Regions from separate parts of the Homo sapiens genome. Here region 1 is linked to region 2. The links are contacts of gene promoters, found by promoter capture Hi-C in blood cells and fetal thymus (Javierre and others, 2016). All regions are on one chromosome and are shown on one strand. Each heading gives the region's core, a stretch centred on a gene start or on the middle of the fragment in contact. The rest is flanking DNA. Distances are from core to core; before and after follow the strand shown. Region 1 overlaps ANXA6 (annexin A6). Region 2 holds the start of GPX3 (glutathione peroxidase 3).

The links. The method cuts DNA at HindIII sites, captures the fragments that hold promoters and counts their contacts. A CHiCAGO score of 5 or more calls a contact.
Region 1: a fragment that was not itself captured here is called in contact with the fragment with the promoter of GPX3 in region 2 in 5 of 17 cell types (M1 macrophages, M2 macrophages, M0 macrophages and 2 more); the score reaches 8.1 in M1 macrophages.

Annotation. Positions count from the first base shown.
Region 1 is chr5:151,120,326-151,126,242 of GRCh38, reverse strand. It overlaps ANXA6 (annexin A6), which reads left to right. Exons shown (of 26, transcript NM_001155.5): 15 at 1,876-1,957; 16 at 3,232-3,326; 17 at 3,983-4,096. Among named protein-coding and RNA genes, the nearest start is that of ANXA6, 34 kb to the left of the region's middle. RefSeq lists enhancers at 1-89, 1,898-2,398. The HindIII fragment of the contact is 3,901 bases long and covers 1-3,873 here.
Region 2 is chr5:151,017,730-151,023,889 of GRCh38, reverse strand. GPX3 (glutathione peroxidase 3) reads right to left here and starts at 3,299. Exons shown (of 5, transcript NM_002084.5): 1 at 3,149-3,299. The coding sequence starts at 3,235. RefSeq lists an enhancer at 655-1,854. The HindIII fragment of the contact is 15,890 bases long and covers 1-6,160 here.

The DNA of each region.
Region 1 (5,917 bases), core at 674-3,173, 100 kb before region 2:
GTGGAGGGGCGCACCTGGTTTCTGCATTAGCTTCTGACACGCTGGAAAGGGTTCTGGCCCACTTACTAACAGGGCTTGCTGAAATGGAGACCTGGCTGGTTCCATGGAGGGGCCTGTCCCGTCTGGAGTCGAAACAGTTGGCCTCAGAGACATGAAAGCTGAGAACAGATGGGCATCCCTGGGTGCACTGGAGGATTTCAGGTTGTCCTCCTGAGCATCCTCAGACTGGGGGTCCACAAAGGACAGGAATGAAAGGTTTCACTAAAGTACTTTAGGCAAACCATTCCAGAGACTGCAACACTTGGTCCACACAAAAAAGCATGGGACCTTGGAGCTCTCTGTTACTTATTCGCTATGTAACCTTTGGAAGGTGCCCCCTCCCTCTGGGCCTCTATGTCTCCATCTTTAAAGTGAGGGGTTAACATGGCAATCTCGGTGATCTCTTAGGGCTCTTGAGCTCTGATGTTCTAGGACAGTGTTCCCCAAATGATAAGGCAAGAGATCTTTGCAGATGATTGTAGGTGATGTGAGAAGTGAATTTAGTTTGGCAGGGTTGAATAACGCTGAACTCCACAGAGTGAATGAGAAAGGCACTCCTTTCCAATTTCATCAGCGTTTCTGATTACGTCAAAGAGGAAGTCTTGGTTTGGTGCCGCCGTCTCTGCAACACTTGCTGATTTTCCTTTTTCACAAAGAGAAAGCTGAGAGAGCTCGCTTTAAGTTTCAGAGCTTCTGGCAAGTAGAGGCATCATGTTAAATTTCATGGTATATCACCTCTTTTGTTTTTATTATGTTGATTTTTGTGGTAAATTGTCAGTTTATGATACATGGTATCAACTTCCTAATTCATGGTAGTTATATAAAATTAATTTCATCCATTCCTTTTTTTTTTTTTTTTTTTGAGACAGGGTCTCACTCTGTTATCCAGGCTGGAGTACAGTGGCATGATCATGGCTCACTGCCACCTCCCCAGGCTCAGGTGATCCTTCCACTTAGCTTCCCAAGTAGCTGGGACCTCAGGTGGACACCACCACACCTGGCTAATTTGTGTAGAGACAGGGTTTCACCATGTTGCCTGGGCTCATCTTGAACCAATGGGCTCAAGCGATCCTCCTGCCTTGGCCTCCCAAAGTGCTGAGATTACAGGCATGAGCCATTGTGCCAAGCCTCATTAATCCACTTAACAATTATTTTTTGAGTGTGCCTATTATGTCAGACACTGTTGTAGGCACCTGGGATATGTAACAGGATAAAACGGATACAATTCCTTGCCTTTTGGGAGTAATTTTAAATGCACTTCAAAAATTGATGCATTTAAGTAGACAGAAAAGAAGTTGAATTACATAAAACCATTAAGAGATGGCATAGTGTGTGTGCTAATTTGGAATAGTGAAAGTCCTTTAGGAGTGACTGAAATTTGGGAAACTCTGTTCTGGTATTTCAGAACTTTTCTGCTGCCTTTTCAGGGGGAATGACTCTTTAAGAGGCAGAGGGGGCCTCGGGGGCAGGGTAGGATTCAGAAGAATTGGGGATGCCCCGGTGGAATAAGCAGCCAAGGGGCACTAGAACCGAGGCAGATCCCGTGGCAGGCGGGAGCCTAGCCAATTTCTCTTGATCAGGACTTGCCCTGCTCCCAGCCCTGAGTCCCTCTCTCCCTCTCTCTATATCTTTCTGTCTCTTTCTCTCTCTCTCTCTCTCTCTCTCTCAGCTCTCGTGCAGGGTCTGTCTGCTGTGGCTTCACCTCTGCCTCTTTCCCCACCCACGCCGCTTGGTTTGGGCTCATGGGGTGAGCTTCCCACCCTCGCATGCTGTCTTTCAGCCTGGTCCCCAGGGGGGCCTTCAGACACCTGCTGAGTCTCTTTCTGCTTCTCACAGCTGAAGGGAACTGTGCGCCCAGCCAATGACTTCAACCCTGACGCAGATGCCAAAGCGCTGCGGAAAGCCATGAAGGGACTCGGTATGGGGGATGGGAAGGGAGCAGGGTTGGTCTCCAGGGCAGCAGGTGTGGTGGGTTTGGCCGTGGGCTGGCAGGGGATGGAGTGAGGTTTCAAATTAGAGTCTGCAGGATGAGGAAGGCTTGATCTCAAGTTTCCACCCTCCTAGCTCCCAGAGTATAGAGAGGAGGGGCAGGAGAGGGTTCATAAGGAACTTGGCAGAAGCCCTTTCCAGGGACCAAGGTGTCCCCCAGCCTCCTGGAAGCAGTATCCTGGCACTGAAGAAAGTACCAGGTCACAAAATTGGCATGGTGCCCTGGCTCTGCTGCTGACTCACCGTGTGACTCTGGGTGAGCCTCTCCGCCACTCTGGGTCTGAATTTCCCTATGTGTAAAATCAGGGCTGTGGACCCTGGAACCCAAGAGCCCTCCCTCATTCTGTGGTGGGAGTGTGCCCTGCTGGGCAGGTCTTTCAGACCTATATTTGGCACCAGTGGGAAGAGTACTGCACCCACAGGTTCAGATCAGCTGGGCCTGTGCTCAGAAAGTCCAGCCTGGGACAGGCCATCTAGGGTTTGGCTTTCTTTGCCTTTCTGCCCCATCTGTCTGACAGCAACTCCCAGGAGGCTTTAGGTTAAGTCCATCACCCTCCTGAGCCTCCTTTCCATGTGTCTCATGGGAATGATGATACCTGCCAAGCTCGCCTGGGACTGTAGGATGCTAGAGGTAAAAATGCCATGAAAGACCCCTGTGCTGGGTCTGTGGTTGATGGCATTAATCTGAGAAGCAGGAAGTGATATTCTAATGCCTTCCAGAGTCAACCTGCTGTGGTTAGAGGGACTCAGGGTCCAGCTTCCAGAGAGCTGAAGAGAAAGGACATAGAGTTGCTAACAGGACTTGGACTGTCAGGGTTGGAAGGATCCCTTGGTGACTACTCCAGCCTCTTCATGTTACAGATGTGGAAACCAAGTCCCATCAAGGGAAGGGGACTTGCCCAGGGTGGGCAGCCATTGCCAGAGCCAGAACTAGAACTCAGAGGCACTGACTCCCAACCCAGTGCTCTCTACCTCCCAGCTGTCCTTTTTCCTCAGCGTGTCAAAAGGAAAGGGAGGGAGGAGTCCAGCAGAAATCAGTGGCCTGAGCCATAGGCAAGCGGACTGCAGGGACTCAGGAGCACATGGCCGCTTAGCCAGGCTTCTACCCTGACAAAGATCGATGAGGGGCCATCAGTGGGCGGTGCATGGGGAAAGCCGAGAGCCACAGGCCTTCTTCTGAGGCATGTGGCTTTGGTGACTCAGGGACTGACGAAGACACAATCATCGATATCATCACGCACCGCAGCAATGTCCAGCGGCAGCAGATCCGGCAGACCTTCAAGTCTCACTTTGGCCGGGTAAGGACCTCCTCCTGGGCTCTCTGTGCAACATGCATGCACCTTGCCTGATTGAGCTCAGCCTGTCCCCATCGGTTCTGCACAGTTGGGCACCAGGGTCTTCATGGCAGAGGGACCCTGTGTGGTCATATGATCTCAGAGTGTCTCCAGCACTGGGTTTGGGCAGACATATCTTTCCATGCCCCCAGTTCCTTGTGATGGGCAACACTTGTGTGAGTTGCTCAGTGGACTCAGAGGCACAGCATGGGGCCAAGATCAGGGCTATGAGTTGTTTTCAGTGTGCTTTGGGCATCTTGCAATTCCTCTGCACAGACAGAGCTGGCTTCAAGGCCCCAACTGAGTGTCAGGGATTATTGCACATTGGTGGCATCTGGCTTAGGTTGATGCATTTCCCCCTGAGTGGAAACAGTGTCCTTCAGCTCTGCTGCCTTCCCGTTCCTGTCTCCTGTGTCAAGGAGAGTGGGTCTTCCTCCTGGTTGTTTTTTCCCTACCCTCTTTGGCTTCATCTAAATAATAAGTACAACATCAGCAAAGACAGACACAAGCTTCCATGATCCCTCATGTGGAACCCCTGTTTTCTCTTTCCATCTCTCCCATCCTGAGTCATGTGTGGGCAAGTGCTGATGTTGGCATGACTGTGGCTCTGCCCTTTGCAGGACTTAATGACTGACCTGAAGTCTGAGATCTCTGGAGACCTGGCAAGGCTGATTCTGGGGCTCATGATGCCACCGGCCCATTACGATGCCAAGCAGTTGAAGAAGGCCATGGAGGTACAGTGTGGCACCAGGGGGTCTAGTGTCTGCGGGTGCCAATAGGGATACAGGTGATCCTCATAAGCCCAGGTGGATTAGCTGTAACTTCTTGGTAGAACTCCTCCCATACTCAGTTCAAACTGGCATAAACACAAAAGGAGATGTTGGCTCCTATAACTGAAAACTACAGGACTAGCTCTGAGTCCAGAGACTCAAATGATGTTCTGTGGACCCTTGGCTCACCCCTGTCTTGGCTCTGCTGTCCTCCCTTCTGGCTTCACTCTCAGGCAGCCTTTCTCCTCATGGTGGCATATGTCCATCCCGCCAGCTAGCGGCTCCAGCAGAAAGAGTTCCTTCTTCCTAGGAGCTCCAACAACAGGCTTGGCATTTACTCCAAGTTGATTCAGCTTAAGTCACATGCCCACTGGTGTCAGAAGGGTCTCATGGAGCCGCTGGAGGAAGTGGGGTGGGTCTCGAACGAAAGCACCAGCAGTTGGAGTCTGTACTCCAGCCTAGACCTGCCACTCACTCACAGTGTGACTGGGCCATTCCTTACACTTCCCAATCCTCTGTGCCTTCATCTGGGAAATGGAAATGGTCACCTCTGCCCTTCAAACTAGGACAGGTCAATCAAGGTCACAGGTATGAAGGGCATTGTTAACTCCGAAGACCTGACCCTACATTAAACAAGAAAGCATTATGTCCTGGCCCAGAAGTTGCTAGAACTGCTTTGCTTCCCAAGGTACCAATTGTACTAATGGCTACTGTTTATAAAGAGCATATGGTAACTCTCCCAGGTTAGGTACATTAGTTCAATTAGTTGCCTCCTCAAGCCACAAGGCAGGGCTCTTATTTTGTCCCCATTTTACAGATGAGGAAACTGAGACTTGGAGGTTAAGTTGCTTGGTCATGGTCATAGAGCTATGAAGTAGCAAAGCTGAGGTTCAGACCAGTCTTTCTGACTCTAGAGCCTGTCTTGACAACCGCATAAAACCAGTAGTGCTTTTGGCCCCTTGCGCATTAAGAGGAGGGCAGCAATGGGGAGCTAGAGGACTTTATAAAAACATTGCCTAGGCTAAGCAGATTGAGATGATTGTTTCTTAAAATACCTAAGCCAAAAAGCAAACGATCTAAAGACACAGGGTTCAGAAATAGAAGAGATCGATGAGGTAACCCAACTGAATCCTTTCCATTTTCAAAGTTTCCAAGTGGGAAACAGAGAGGCTCAGAGAGTCAGTGAGTTAGGGGGAGACGAGGGCTAGACCCAGTCTCAGGACTTTCTTGATTGCCTCACCACACACCTGCTTCTAACAAAGAAATGATTGAAGATCTCAATCAGGATGAATCTCCTAGGATCTGAGAAGGCAGGACCATTAGAGCACTAGGCAGTAACCTCTTTGAGGACAGAGAACATGTCTTGCCTCTTGCCTTTCTCTTTTTTTTTTTGAGACGGAGTCTCGCTCTTTCGCCCAGGCTGGAGTGCAGTGGTGTGATCTCGGTTCACTGCAACCTCCACCTCCCAGGTTCAAGCGATTCTCCTGCCTCAGCCTCCTGAGTAGCTGGGATTACAGGCGCACGCCACCACGACCAGCTAATTTTTTTGTCTTTCTAGTAGAGAAGGGGTTTCACCATGTTTGCCAGCGTGGTCTTGAACTCCTGACCTCAAGTGATCTGCCCTCTTCAGCTTCCTAAAGTGCTGGGATTACAGGTGTGAGCCACCACGCCCGGACTTTTTTTTTTTTTTTTTTGTAGTTGTAGCCCCAGCACCTTGCACAGTGGCTAGCACATAATAGGTGTCTTAACAAGTACCTGAATGAGTGAATTAGTCATTGACTCATT
Region 2 (6,160 bases), core at 2,050-4,549:
GCAGCTGCAAGCTCTCTTCTTGGCTCTGGTGCAAACTTCCTGCTTTACATGAGTCTAATATTCCACATCCGGTGACTTTTGGTGGGTGCTGGAGGCAGGCCCAAGACCTAAGATCAACATTCCTACTGCTCCTGGACCTCCTCGTTCCCAGCCAGGGCCAGTTCCGCCTTAAAATGCAGACAAACTGGGGCACAACAAATACACCCTAGACCGCCACAAAGATCTAGTGGCCAGAAAGCCAGGCATGTCTATAGCCTCTCCACTTTTTTAACTCTGCCATGATCCAAAAATGAACTCTGAGACATGGAGGAAAAAAAGATTACAGGTTGTCCTAATAATGGGAACTTGTAAACAGAAGGACCAGCTTCTGGGCACAGTTTCAGCTTGGGGGTGTGGCAAGGAGAACCCTATTTCATTAGGTTCTATTTTTTGCTGGCTGTGTGGCCCTGAGCAAGTCACTTACACTGTCTGGGCATATGTCCAGGGAGATAAGCATGCTGCTGCCCAAAATGGTTGTGGGAATCTGCTGGCAGAGCAAAACAGGCCTGGAGTCTCTTGGAACGAAATCTCATGTCAAGGGATAGTGGGGGTCAGAAGGTGGCCCATGGGTGGAGAGCCACGGCTGTGCTCACCACTGATCACTGCAACTCAGTCCTCTATGAGCCCCCTTCCCTTCTCTGGGCACGTGGAATCCCAGAGCACCGCATCTGAAACAGTGGCCAGAGGAGATAAGGGGAGAGGCCATGAGGGTGCCTGAATCCTCCCACAGCCGGGCAAGAGAAGAGGGTTCCAATGGCTTGAGAGTTGGATGATGGGACTCAGCCAGGACTCTGGCTGGCTGGGGCTGCTGGTCTTGTGTCTTTCTCCTCTCCCGTCTTATTACTCCTATCAATATGATGCTGTGAGAAGTGGTCTGGGAGTCAGGAGACCTGAGTGCTGGGCTTTGCTGTGTCTCTGATGCCATGTGACCCCCTTTGCTGGGGCTCCAGCTCCTCCATTGTAAGATGGAGTCAGGTTCAGGGCTGTCTTAAGGGCCCTTTAACTCTGTCAGCCTGTGGTTCCATGATTCTCTCTGCCAGGTTTAGTCACCTAGAAACCAGCAGTTACTAGGATCCCGTGCACGTCAGCAGTTGTCACTCTTTCCGGCTTCTGCAGTCCTTTTGTAGAGACAAGGAGCGTGGGCAGCCTGAAGTTGGACTGGGGAGGTGACGCAGCAAGAAGAGGAGGACCTGGTCTCTTCCCTAGCATCTCCCTTTCAATTGGTAGGAGGAAAACACCTCTCTGGGGCTGAGTCACCTTTCGTCCATTCCATTCTCCACATGCCCCATAACCCTATCTCTTTACCCTGGGGTTGGGGGTAAGGTGAGTGGTTGGGTCCTAACCCAGAGCTAAGACATCTGAACTCTAAGAACTTGGGAGCAGAGATGGGCATGCCCAGGCTTTCATTAGCCAGCAAGTCCTGACTGGTTGTATGTGATATGATCACACCTCACCCTAAAACTTTTCTAGACCATCCCCATCCTATTCTCTCTGAGTCCATTTATCCTTCCCCAGAGTGCTGCAGAGAAGACACAGCTATGATGAGTTATTCATGGAGTCCACGTTCTCCCCACTAGCCTTCTTGAGGCAGGGCCCAATTGTATCTTCTTTGACCTTTCCAAAACTGAAGGTTGGGACTGACTCCACGGTGCTGGCCTGTCTATGGCCCACCCCAAACCTCAATGTTGAAAATCGATCCCATTCCTGACCTGGAAAATGCCTTCTGAGTTGGGGATTATGAACAGGGATGGATAAAAAGGAGGGGACTTGGACGAAGTGGCTTCACATCCATTTAGACTGACTCCAAGGAGAGGCTGATTAATCGGATTTAGGCTGAGGACCGAAAAGGGGTGAGTAACATGGAAGGAACCCTGTGCTTCCAATGGGCTTCCTGAGAAGTGGACAGAATTTTGGAAACGGAATCCTAGACTCATAAGAACTTAATTAAAGTGAAGACCCAGAGGATTTTAGAAACAAAAGCTCAGAGCTTGCAAAAATGTGAGTTATGCATGTTGGGAAGTTGGAGACAGAAATCGCTCGCTTTGAGTCTATCCCTACACCTGGCTTCTGCCTCCTTCCCCACCCACTCCCACTCCCTGGGTAGAGGAGAGGTCTACAGAGCCCACCCCAGTACATACTGTCAAAGGAGATAAGCATGCTGGGTCATCCCACTCCTGGCCTCAGTATCCCCACTCCAGGTGTGGGCCACACACCTGCTGGAAATAGACTGAGGCTCTAGAGAATTCTACCTCTTCTTCTGAATTAGCAGTCCCCAGCTTTCTCCAACTACCAGGTTTCCTCAGGCTAATGAGGACAGTGGGTCCTGGGTAGTGAGGCTGCCCCAGGGGAGGAAATTTCAGAGAACAGCTTGTGGATTTTTCAGCTTCTCCAAGCATCCCCTCTGAGGCCCTCAGCTTCATTGTGCCCCATGCACTCCCACCCCCAAACTCTCCCCTGCAGATGGAGAAACGGGGGTCCAGGAGCAGGTAAGGACTCAGGGTCCTGAGTGTTCTGCACTGTCACTCCAGAGCTCTTTCTAGCACAGATCTCTGCCTCTTCTACCAATGCCCTGAATCCAAGTGGCCATTTCTACCTGCCTGTATCATTCTTGGGGTAGAAGAGCCCCCCACAGCAGTTCTTCAGGACCAGGACCACCCAGCTGCCTCTCTCCTTTCTCCTTGTCTCTCTCCCTGGGAACTTGCACAGCCCACCCAGACGCTGGGCATTTTTTTCTGTGACGCCCTCCCTCTTAGGCCCTACTGAAGGGGAGCAGCTCAGGCACGGAGGTGACATAGATGTAGCAAGGCGACCCTCGAGGTGGCAGTGGGGAGAAAGTGCGAGCTCGGGGAGAGAGACCTTCCTCCCTTAGTCATTCTGCCCGCCTGAAGCACCAGGTCTCGGCTCTCCAACAGATGGAACTACGAGACGACGACGGTCGGGGGCGGGGTCCCGGCGGCGGAGGGGGCGGCAAAAGGGGTTCAGGAGGTCTCTCGCACCTGGGGATTGCCCATCTGGCGGGGAGCCTGGGAAAAGGGGTGCATTGCACTGAGCGCTGGACACCGAGGGGCTAGGTTTTTTCTCCCGGCCCCCGGCCCGGAGGCTCACTCACCTTCGACTTCTCTTGTCCCCGGCTCTGCGAGACGAAGCCGGCCAGGAGCAGGGAAAGCAGGCAGGACGCCTGCAGCAGCCGGGCCATGGCGGGGTGGGGGCACACTCAGGGTCGCCTGAGCCGCTGCCTGATCCCTGGCCACCGTCCGTCTGAGGTGTCCGGCGCTCCCAGCCACCTTTCAAGCCCTCGGGTGTGACCAATCCGCGGCCAAGCCGAGACCCTTGCAGCCAATCGCTAGGCGGCTGGGATTTCAGGGGCGGGCGCGACTTGCCCTCAGCTCCCCACCTCCCCGTCCCGGGGCGACAGTGACATAAGCAAATCTGGGCAGAGAGGTGGAAGTCAGGTCCCTGTGGACGTGGGAGGCGGTCCCTTCCTCTTTTGGCTCCAAAGTGCGAAAGGAGGCAGACACAGCGGTCTCCATTACAGCCAGGGCAAGGGGGCTAATAGCTCCCTAGAACTGATGGAAGTCTCCATTCTGGGAAGCATTTCTTATTCCTATCGAGGTTTTAAAAACACCTGGCGATGGTCCTCTGGAAATTGAGGGTTTAAAATTTCAGCAAGAGCTGAAGTTAAACTTCCAGAAACATTTACTATATATAGGTTTAGTGCTTAAGAAACAAAGAGTGGGTGTCCTGGGATTTTGAAAACCCCATTCTGGGTAGGGCATTAGGACTGTAGGGACAGAGAAGGTGGGGTGCCTTTCCTCCCCATCATAAGGATCACAGCTGACATGCCTGTAGAAAAAGGTTAGCAAGAGAAAAGCATAACGATTTATTTAATTAAAGTTTTCTGTGACATGAGAGTCTTCAGAAATGAAGACCCAAAGACTCAAGGAAAACTCTATTTTTAGGCTTAGATTCTATGAAGACCATGGAAATGCGCAGAAATGTGAGTGGGGAAAAAGGGAATGGTCTAATAGTAATAAACTGAGTGGGAAACCCAGCAAGGCTTGTCTGTTCGTATTCTTCTTGGCCTATCTGTGGCCAAACCACCTGGCTTAGAAGCAGAAAATAAATTTGCTCCCTGTGTAGTCTTTAACATGTTGCAGTTACTCTCTGGGCCTCAGTTTCCTCAGCTATGTAATGATGGGATTGATTAGTGATCTCCAGTGCCCTTCTGGCTCTGGCTAGATGACTTGTTTCTAAAGTAAGTGACAGACGGAGACCAGGAGTCCTTTGAGAATAGGGCCCATAATCACCACCTGGCACAGGGCCTAGCACACAAGAGATGTAAAGTATTTGCTGACTTAATCATTCATTACATTAAAAAAACAAAATCTCCATGGAACACTTAGGATCAGACCAGGCAGTTCTAGGGCTGGGCTGTCTAGGTATGATCCCGTTCACAGATGGGGAATGTGATGGAATCAGTCTCAAATCTCTCTGACCACCAGAGTCAACTGGGAAGCCTTTAATACAGATTCCTGGACCCCACTTTGGAATCACTGCATTAGAATCTCTAGGGGCAGAAGCTGAAAATCTGTCTTCAGACATGTTCTAAGGTTATTGTGAGGCAGTTGGCCTGGCTGTAGCCTTGGTAGTGTGAGTCCTAGGATTAAGTGCCTTCTGGAACTTTCTTCTGACCAAGAAATGCCTTGAGAAACCATACCTTTACTATGATTAAAGGTATTAACATCCCCCTGGGAATTTGGAAGATGTCTCTCAAGTTTTGCATTCTCTACGAAGTCTTCCCACCTCAAACCACAGCCTGTTGAAGTGGAAGGAACCACAGAGGCCAGGAAGTCTTTAGCTGAGTTAAAGCCTGGGAGCATATGAACAATGGCTGACACACAGTAAGTGCTCAATACGTTTTATTCAACCACCTCATTTCCCTGAAGCCTAGAGATGAGGAGCAATTTATCCAAGTTCCCATAACCAACTGATGGCAGGGAGGGAACCAGAATCCAGGTCTCTAGACTCAGTCTCAGGCCCTCTCCATGTTGTTCTGTTGTCTTTTAAGGTTCGTATTTACCCTAAAATATAAACATCTGTGTGCACATCAGTTTGTCAGAAATCCATTGTTCATTAGTATCAGTAGGCATCTAGTGACCCTCAAAATAGGCACCTAGCAACATGTTAACACCATGAGAGATGCTAAAGAGTTGTCTAAAAGCCAAAGTCCCTGCTCTCAAAGGTGTTTCCAGCAGATACCAGCAGGGTGAGGGAAGGGAAGGCACCTAGGGTCACACAAGTGCAGGCTGGCACCTGGCAGCGGGCATCTCTCTACATTTTGCACCCTCTATGTCTCACTTGTCTCACCTTAATCCCAGCCCTGGTGGTCTATTTCTTTAGGGGAGACAAGAAGGAGCCAGAGACCTGAGATGCTACCCCTGGATTGCTACGGAAAGTAATAAAATTACTTTCCTTCTCTGATCTCAGTTGTCCACCTATTTAACAAGGATCTTTGACAGTCTCTCAGTGGTGGTGTCTGTGGCTTTTCATTCCTAAGAGTATAAGGAAAGCCTGAGCCATACAAAACAGGAGTACAAAACTGATGACATGGACAGTGGGGTGGGGAGGCTTGGGGAGCCTGCCCTGGCATTAAGAAGGGCTTTCATGCTGCAGTGAGCTTTCAAAGGAGGTCTAACCATTGGCACAAAGAGCATGACAGTGAAAACAATGAGAATGAAAACAATACTTCCCAATCTTTTCATCAGCAGCCTTTTAAATACATTTGGTTGACTTGTTTTCAAGGACCCTATGTTTTGAAATATATCGTTCTCCACCAGGCTGCTTCTGATTGCCCTCAGGTTAAAGTCTAAATTCCTTAGCACTTCAGAAAGTGCCCTCAAAATCCATCTGCTTCTTCCTCTTTTGCCACACTCTCCATATTCTCTCTGCCTCCGCTACACTGGACATTTTTCCGTTCTTGCAGTCTGCCATTCTCCCTCACTTCCAGGTTTCATCTCTGCTGTTCCCTGTGCTTGGAACAGAGGTTGTCTCCCTTTAACTGGTACTATCCTACTCATTTTTCATATCTCCACTAATGTCACGTCTTAAGACAGGGGTTTCG